2 separate regions of the Homo sapiens genome follow, and region 2 is linked to region 1. Evidence: promoter capture Hi-C in human tissues and cell types (Jung and others, 2019). All regions are on one chromosome and are shown on one strand. The core of a region is centred on a gene start or on the middle of the fragment in contact, and the rest is flanking DNA. Distances in the headings are between cores, read along the strand shown. Region 1 holds the start of EPHA7 (EPH receptor A7). Region 2 has its middle 76 kb from the start of LINC02531.

Region 1 (3,400 bases), core at 318-2,817:
ATCAAGGACCTATATGTAAGTCCCCTCAACACCCCGCCCGATAACCACCATGACCTAAATTTCATAACAGATTCCTCTCCCTCTACACATCAGGAATAAGTAATTATTTCTCTTCTGCTTTTAACAGATCGAAAAATGAAACTTAGATACACAGCCTGAAAGACCAGGGGGGCGACGGGATGAGGGGGGTTGGGGATGGGATTGTGACACTGCTCAAAAGCAAGAGACTTCCATTGACAGGGTTTATTTTTCCCCAGCTCCAACTACAGGCACCGAAAGGTATTTTACCTTCTGTCAAAGGTTCAAAGAAGGAAAACATAACCATATACAGGCGTATCTGTAACAGCTTGCCAAATAAAACCTGCCTTCTCCTACCAGAACCAACCCTCAGGGTTCAGGTCTTTGGCAAGGATTGGGCACTCGGATTCCTCAATTGCTGCACTATGGGGCAAATAATTGGGGACTTTGAGTCGCCCAGGCGGCATCCTTACAAATTGCACAGCTCCAGCCCGCCCCCTGCCTCCACGGCCCGACCAAGCCCGCTGGGCTGCCGCTGCCCCCATGACCGCTGGGCCCGACGCGCAGCGCGCGCTGAATGGAGACATCCCCGGCCCTCGGGTCGCGCGCCGCACGCCGCGCTTCACCTCCGCGGCGTTATTGTTCCGTGCTGGCGGCCGAGCGCCAACCGCAGGACCGCGCCGCCGCCTCCGACGCAGTGAGCACTTCATTAGTAACCCGAGCTTTCCGAGCTCATCGAAGTCTCGGTCCCTCTGGGAAGGCTCCGGGCTCCCGCCACTCGCCGGCGGGCTGGCGGAGACGGTAGGGGCTGCATTTCCCAGTCTCCAACCCAACTCTGGCCGCAGCTCCCACAGAAGGCGAATAAGGAGACAAGGAAGACCGAGCTAGAGAGAGATGTGACCCGCCTGAGGTACTAAGAAATAAGCTCGCCGGCAGTTCCTCCAACCCCACCCCACCCCCGTTGCTGCTCACGCCCTCCAGACTGCCCGCGCCAGAAATCCCGCACCCGTCGGATGGACGGCTCCGGGCACAGGGCTGTAGGCGGCTCGGAACAGCCCTGGTTCGCGCTCGCTGGTCCGCCAGGAGCGGCCTCAGCGGTGAGGGGGCGGGGAGCCGGCGGGGGAGGGTCGCCCGGCGCCGGAGGCGCGGCCGGCAGCGCCGCGGACGAGCTGGCTTGTGCAGGTAGACATCTAAATAAATAAGTCAGAACAAACTTTGCTTTCCCATCACCTTACCTTCCTTCGCAGCCTGCGCCTCCCCTGTGTGTGCAAAGCGGAGCAGCCAGATGTAGCATAAAATAATCCATGAAGGGTACCGAGTTTGAAAAACCATGGTGCATGAGCAGGTTTTATTTTAGGTTTCAGTTATCTTGAGTCGTGGATTTTTAAATGCTGTTTGTTCCGAAGTAGCTTTTGTTTTATTGTGCTCCTTGCATCGATTCCCCTTCTCGGTCCCCGATCGGCTGCTCCACGTTTAGCTTTTTTTAATTTCCCCCCCACTCCTGTTCGCTCGCACCGTGTTTGCTGCCTGCAAGTCTCCGACTGCAGACCGGCCGCTTGCTCCACACTCCAATAATATCAATTAGGGGGGGAGGGGGCGGGGCTCCGAGCTGAGAGCCTCCGCCACTCGGGCTGAGTGGCAGGCACAGCCGGCCTGCCAGGAGGCGATTCCCAGGGCCAAGGGGCGGGTCCCGGCGAAATGGCCGCCCCGGCCACGGGGGCGGGGTCCGAGGCAGGAGCCAATCGGTGCCGAGCGGAGTCAGGTTGCTGGTCCAGGATTCCCTCCAGGTTCTGAGCTCGCGCTGGATGTTCAGAGGAGAACGAGGATGGTAGCCGAGGTGTGTGCTGCTTTGGACGCTCTGCTTTTAGCAACCGCAGCTTTCGCGTAGCAGAATAAATCCGAGAATAACGCTCCCAACTTACACTCTTTTCTATAGCTGTACTCCGCGCGATCTTTTAGAAACCAGAGGCGAAGCAAGCCTTCTCTCAGCTACCAAGCACGGAGCCCGGACAGTGAAATGAGCTGTGCCTTTAAGTAAAGTGTGTTTTACTTTTTTGTTGTTAGAACCTCCGCGGGCTGGGTAACTTTGTTTTTTGCCTTTTTGAAAAGTTTCTACTTCTCTTTTTCTGTTACTCCAAGAGCCGTCAGTTTTAGGTACCACCCACCACAATCCCTGAAAGAATAAAGTAACCAAGTGTATTATGTTTAAACAATGTTTCCAAGAGTTTGCAACAAGCTCTGGCAAAAGAAACAGAGGAAAAGGGAGTGGGAAAGGAAGTCTTTTGTTTTAAGCGCCCCTTCTCCTCCGCCCTGTCTTTTCACCATAGTTTGTTGAGCGAAGTGAGACATTAGGAGAGAACCTTCTGATGGTTGCGTATCGTTTTTTTACGCGTTTATCATTTTCTAAGGTTTTCCTTGGATTGCCTCCACTTTGATAGTTTTCCATTTCGCTGCATAAATTACACTGAATTTTAAAGAATGCCACTACGTATTAAATTCATAAAGCAAGACCTTTCTCTTCGCAAGTATTTACCATTTTCAGGAATTATTCAATGCTTATCTTTCAAAGAGAAACTAAGAATAAAAAAAGTCATAACCAATATCTCCAGTTGAATTCATTCAACCCGAACGGCAAGGAAGGCTGCGTAGAGAAATCTGTTTTCCATTAGGCAGTTTCGGACACTTTGTATTCAAGAGGTAGGTAATAAGAGGAAGAACTTTAAAATTTTAATTGCCAAATCTTCAATTTCAAAGGTCACACAGAGTAACTTGATCACATGTTTAAGATGAATTTCTTTTTTTGTCCTATAATTTCTTCCTTTAAAAATATTTCTCAGTCATTTATGATTTCCTTTTATTTCCGATAGATCCAAAGTTTGATCTCACATAAGGCTCCAAACTTTTTCCAACCTTTCTATCTGGAAATATAAAGTAAATTGAGTTGTTTCTGCTTTTTATAGTAGGGAGTTCTCTAAGATGACAACCCCCAGATATTTATTTGTATTTTATGTTAAATTGTCTCCTGTAGTTTTTATTTGCCTAATAAAATAACATGGAAGAGAGATATGAAATTTATTCTTTAAACCTCTTTGATTCTGTAGTTTCTGAAACATTTCTTCAATGTTACATATTCCTAGCCATTATGCCTATTTAATATTTTAGAAAGTGTATCAAAAAGCATCTTCAGTGTCCCTTAAAGGATGCATAGAAAATGTAAATGCGTAATAGATTAACCTTAGAAAGAGACAAAAAAAAATATGGGGAGAACACACTTGTTATAGAGGAGATGAAGCTTTATTTACACAAATAGATGATTTAAGGATGAAACTTGTAAACTAAAACATAAGAGTTAAAAACATAAATCCCTGCACTTAGTCTTTAG
Region 2 (3,420 bases), core at 691-3,190, 620 kb before region 1:
ACAGATGATTGTTATAATAATATTAGCTTTTCTTATTGTCCATGCGTTACTTTTATTGAGATATTTATTTCTTCATATGGCTTCAAGTTAATGCCTACTGTCCTTTTATTTCACCCAGCAGGACTCCCTTAAACATGACAAAACAAACAAACAAACAAACAAAAACCTCCCTAGCTTTTGCTTACTTGTAAATTTCTTAATTCCTCCCTCATTTATGGACAATTTTGCTAGATACAAGACTCCTGATTGACAGTATTTTTCCAACTACAACTTTGAAATATTTGCCCACTGCCTTCTGTCCTCCAATGTTTCTAATGAGAAATCTCATAATTTTATTGAGGTACTCTTGTATATGACAAGTTACTTCCCTCTTGCTGCTTTCAAGATTCTCTGTCTTTGGCTTGTAAAAATTTGATTATAATGTTTCTCCATGTAGATGTCCTTGAGTTCATTTTACCTACAGTTTGTTGAGCTCTTTGGATGTTTATATTCATATCTTTCATCAAATTTAGAAAGTGTTTAGCTATTATTTTTTAAAATATTCTCTCTGGAACTTTGTCTCTTCTCCTTTGGGACTCCTGCAATTTTATGTTGATTTCTGCTTAATGGTGTCCCACAGATTTCTTAGGTTTAGTTCACTTTTCCTCAAACTTTTTTCTTTCTGTTTCTCAGACTTGATAATTTCCATTGTCCTACCTTCAAGGTCACTGATTCCTTCTTCTCCCTACTCAAATCTGCCTTTGAATCCTTCTAGTATTTTTTTTTTCATTTTAACTATTGTACTTTCCAGTTCTATAATTTTTTTGGTTCATTTCTAGGTTTTCTAACTCTTTATTGATATTTTCATTTTGTTCATATATTGTTTTCTTAGCTTTCTCCCCATCTTTAATTATTTGAGCATATTTAAGACAGTTCTTCGAAATCTTTATCTAGTAGATATACTTTCTGTTCTTTTCAGGAACAATTTCCATAGTTTATTTTTTCTTTGAGTGGGCCATACTTTTCTGTTTCTTTGTGTGTCTTGTGATTTTTTTTTTTTTTTTGGCAAGAACTGGACATTTGAATCTAATAATGTGGCAATTCAGGAAATCATATTCTTTCCCTTCCCCAGAGTTTGCTATTTGTTGTTTTTATTTATTCTTTTTAAATTGTTGTAGGTTGTCCCTGTGCTAAGGATCAGCCTGTGATGTAAACTTAAGGTTTTCTCGGGTGTTTCCTGAGTCTGTGCCTTTCCCTGGCAAGTATGGTCACTTTCTAATTTTCCTGTATATGCTGTTATTTGTGAATGTCCTAGTCATAAATATCTGGCTCCCAAAAAAGGGAAAAGAGAAAAAATGAAAGAGTGGAGGAATGGGTGCCAACCCTTTAAATCCCCTGGAAGTCACTTTAGCTATAGGGTGGACAGCTTGCAACAATGAGGGAGGTATAAGAACAATGGCTACCCACCTCCTTTTCTGCACCTCAGTAATCAGAAGCAGCAATCAGCAATCAGAGCACAGCTCCCTAATATTTGGAGAACAGGGTCCTTTTTGCCCACCCTAGCTCCCACTAACTGTATGCAAGCTGCTCCTGGAATGCATGCACACCTGCTTACCCTACATGAGGGATAAGTGGTTGCTACTATGCTGAGAACTAAAATTGACCTATCAAGCCTTCCCCTGGGGGTTGCAAGCCTTCAATAGACTCCAGATTTCCAAAACAGTTACAAGAGTCAGAGACGGCCAGTGCAATTACTATTGAGGTAGAAAGACTGATTGCTGGTGCTTCCTACTCCACCATCTTCCCAGAATTCTCCTTGGATATTGTTCAAGGTAATTTTGCCTATCATATGAGGCAGAGATACCCGAGCCTTTCATAAAGCTTAGGCAGGGAATAACTCTCTCTTCATGCTTAGGACTGAGAGCCACTCATGCAAATTAATGCCACCAAATATCTGTGAGGATATTAGCCATGTAGGATTCAGGGTTGGAGTCCTAGAGATAGTTTTTACTTTATTCTAAAAGATGCACATAGTACAATTTTAATATAGTGCAAATTTTGTCTTGAGCACTCCCTAATCCTTGATTTACCAACCTCCTTCTTCATGCCAACAACCAAAGAGAGGCATAATTCTCTCATATTAAGCTTAAATGTCCTGGGACTTCACTTTTTCTAATGTGCCTCCATGCTTATTTTCTTTCACTCTTTCAAAGGTGTAACTAAACATAAAGTTTCACTTAAGATATTAAATACTCAATTTTTAAGGGTATCTTATATTTTCTGTACATAAGATTTTATCCACAAATAGTGCAAGGAGTAATATTATATAATACATGACAATTTTATCTGAGGCATGCCAGGGTCGTAACTTGAAGGCAATGATAAGTGATTAAAGTATTCCATTCCTTTTTAGGCCAGTAAGGAAGGAGGGTTCTAGGTGTGTGTGTGTGTGTGTGTGTGTGTGTGAATGCACGCACATACACACGCATGCAAATATGTTTGAGAACACTGTGGCCCTCAAAACAAAACACAAATGTTACTCTTCTTGATCAAAGGAATTCCAGGAATTTATGACACAGGATGATATAAGAATGAACATGTCAATTCTTACTATACATTCAAATGGAGAAGGAACAAAAATAGTGCAGTGCCCTACCCACAATATCATGTTAGTGTCCTTTCCTTTCCTACTGCAAAACTTCCTCAAACCCCATCAGATGAATATGGGCACCCCCTCCCTCCACATACATGTAGGATTGTGACTTGGCCAGTTCCGTCCAATGGCGCCATCAAAGTTTGCCTCTCTCCTTCTTGAAGCTCCCCCAACATCCTTGGATTGCTGTATATAGCATTCAGTTACCCTTGTAAACAGGCAGACCTAGTCTCATCCCTGATTATCTTTGTCATTACAGCAAGGAATTTTGAGGTGTAAGAGTAAAGAGGAACTGAGGACATGAAGGGAGAGAGTAGCTCTGAGTCAGTAAGCAAGGCTTTGAATTCACTGCAGTTGCAAGCAGCATGGCAGTATCTTATAATTCAAAAACAAAACTTTAATGTTTTCAGCTCATTCTAAACTTTTTACGGGGCAGCAAGGTCATTATTACTGACATTCTCAGTTTTGGGATCTTCTATTTCAGAAGCCACCATCACATTGCTTTCTGACTAAAACCACAAGGTTTGTTTGACTGAATCAGACTTGATTTGCTTAGTGTCAGTCTTTTTTTTTAGGACGCCATTTTAATCCATATCATCTGCTGTCCATTACAAGAATAATATCTCTTAAGTTTTCCCTCAGTAGGGAGAGTGACTTGTTTTCTTTCCCTTCATATAAGGGTTCTTTTAGCCAAAGGAACTCTAGCCTTGCAATGTTTGTTTTGTGTGATTTCTGTTATTTTTATTGTACAATTTTAACACCCTACTCTACCCTCTACTCCAGACTAG

Evidence for each region. Contacts are between HindIII fragments. The study calls those that stand out against the background at their distance.
Region 2: a fragment that was not itself captured here is called in contact with the fragment with the promoter of EPHA7 in region 1 in 1 of the 25 tissues and cell types used here (mesenchymal stem cells).

The regions. Positions count from the first base shown.
Region 1 is chr6:93,417,992-93,421,391 of GRCh38, forward strand. EPHA7 (EPH receptor A7) reads right to left here and starts at 1,568. Exons shown (of 17, transcript NM_004440.4): 1 at 1,254-1,568. The coding sequence starts at 1,350. RefSeq lists a silencer at 1,616-1,815. The HindIII fragment of the contact is 11,378 bases long and covers 1-3,400 here.
Region 2 is chr6:92,797,663-92,801,082 of GRCh38, forward strand. No RefSeq gene overlaps it. Among named protein-coding and RNA genes, the nearest start is that of LINC02531, 76 kb to the left of the region's middle. The HindIII fragment of the contact is 3,748 bases long and covers 67-3,420 here.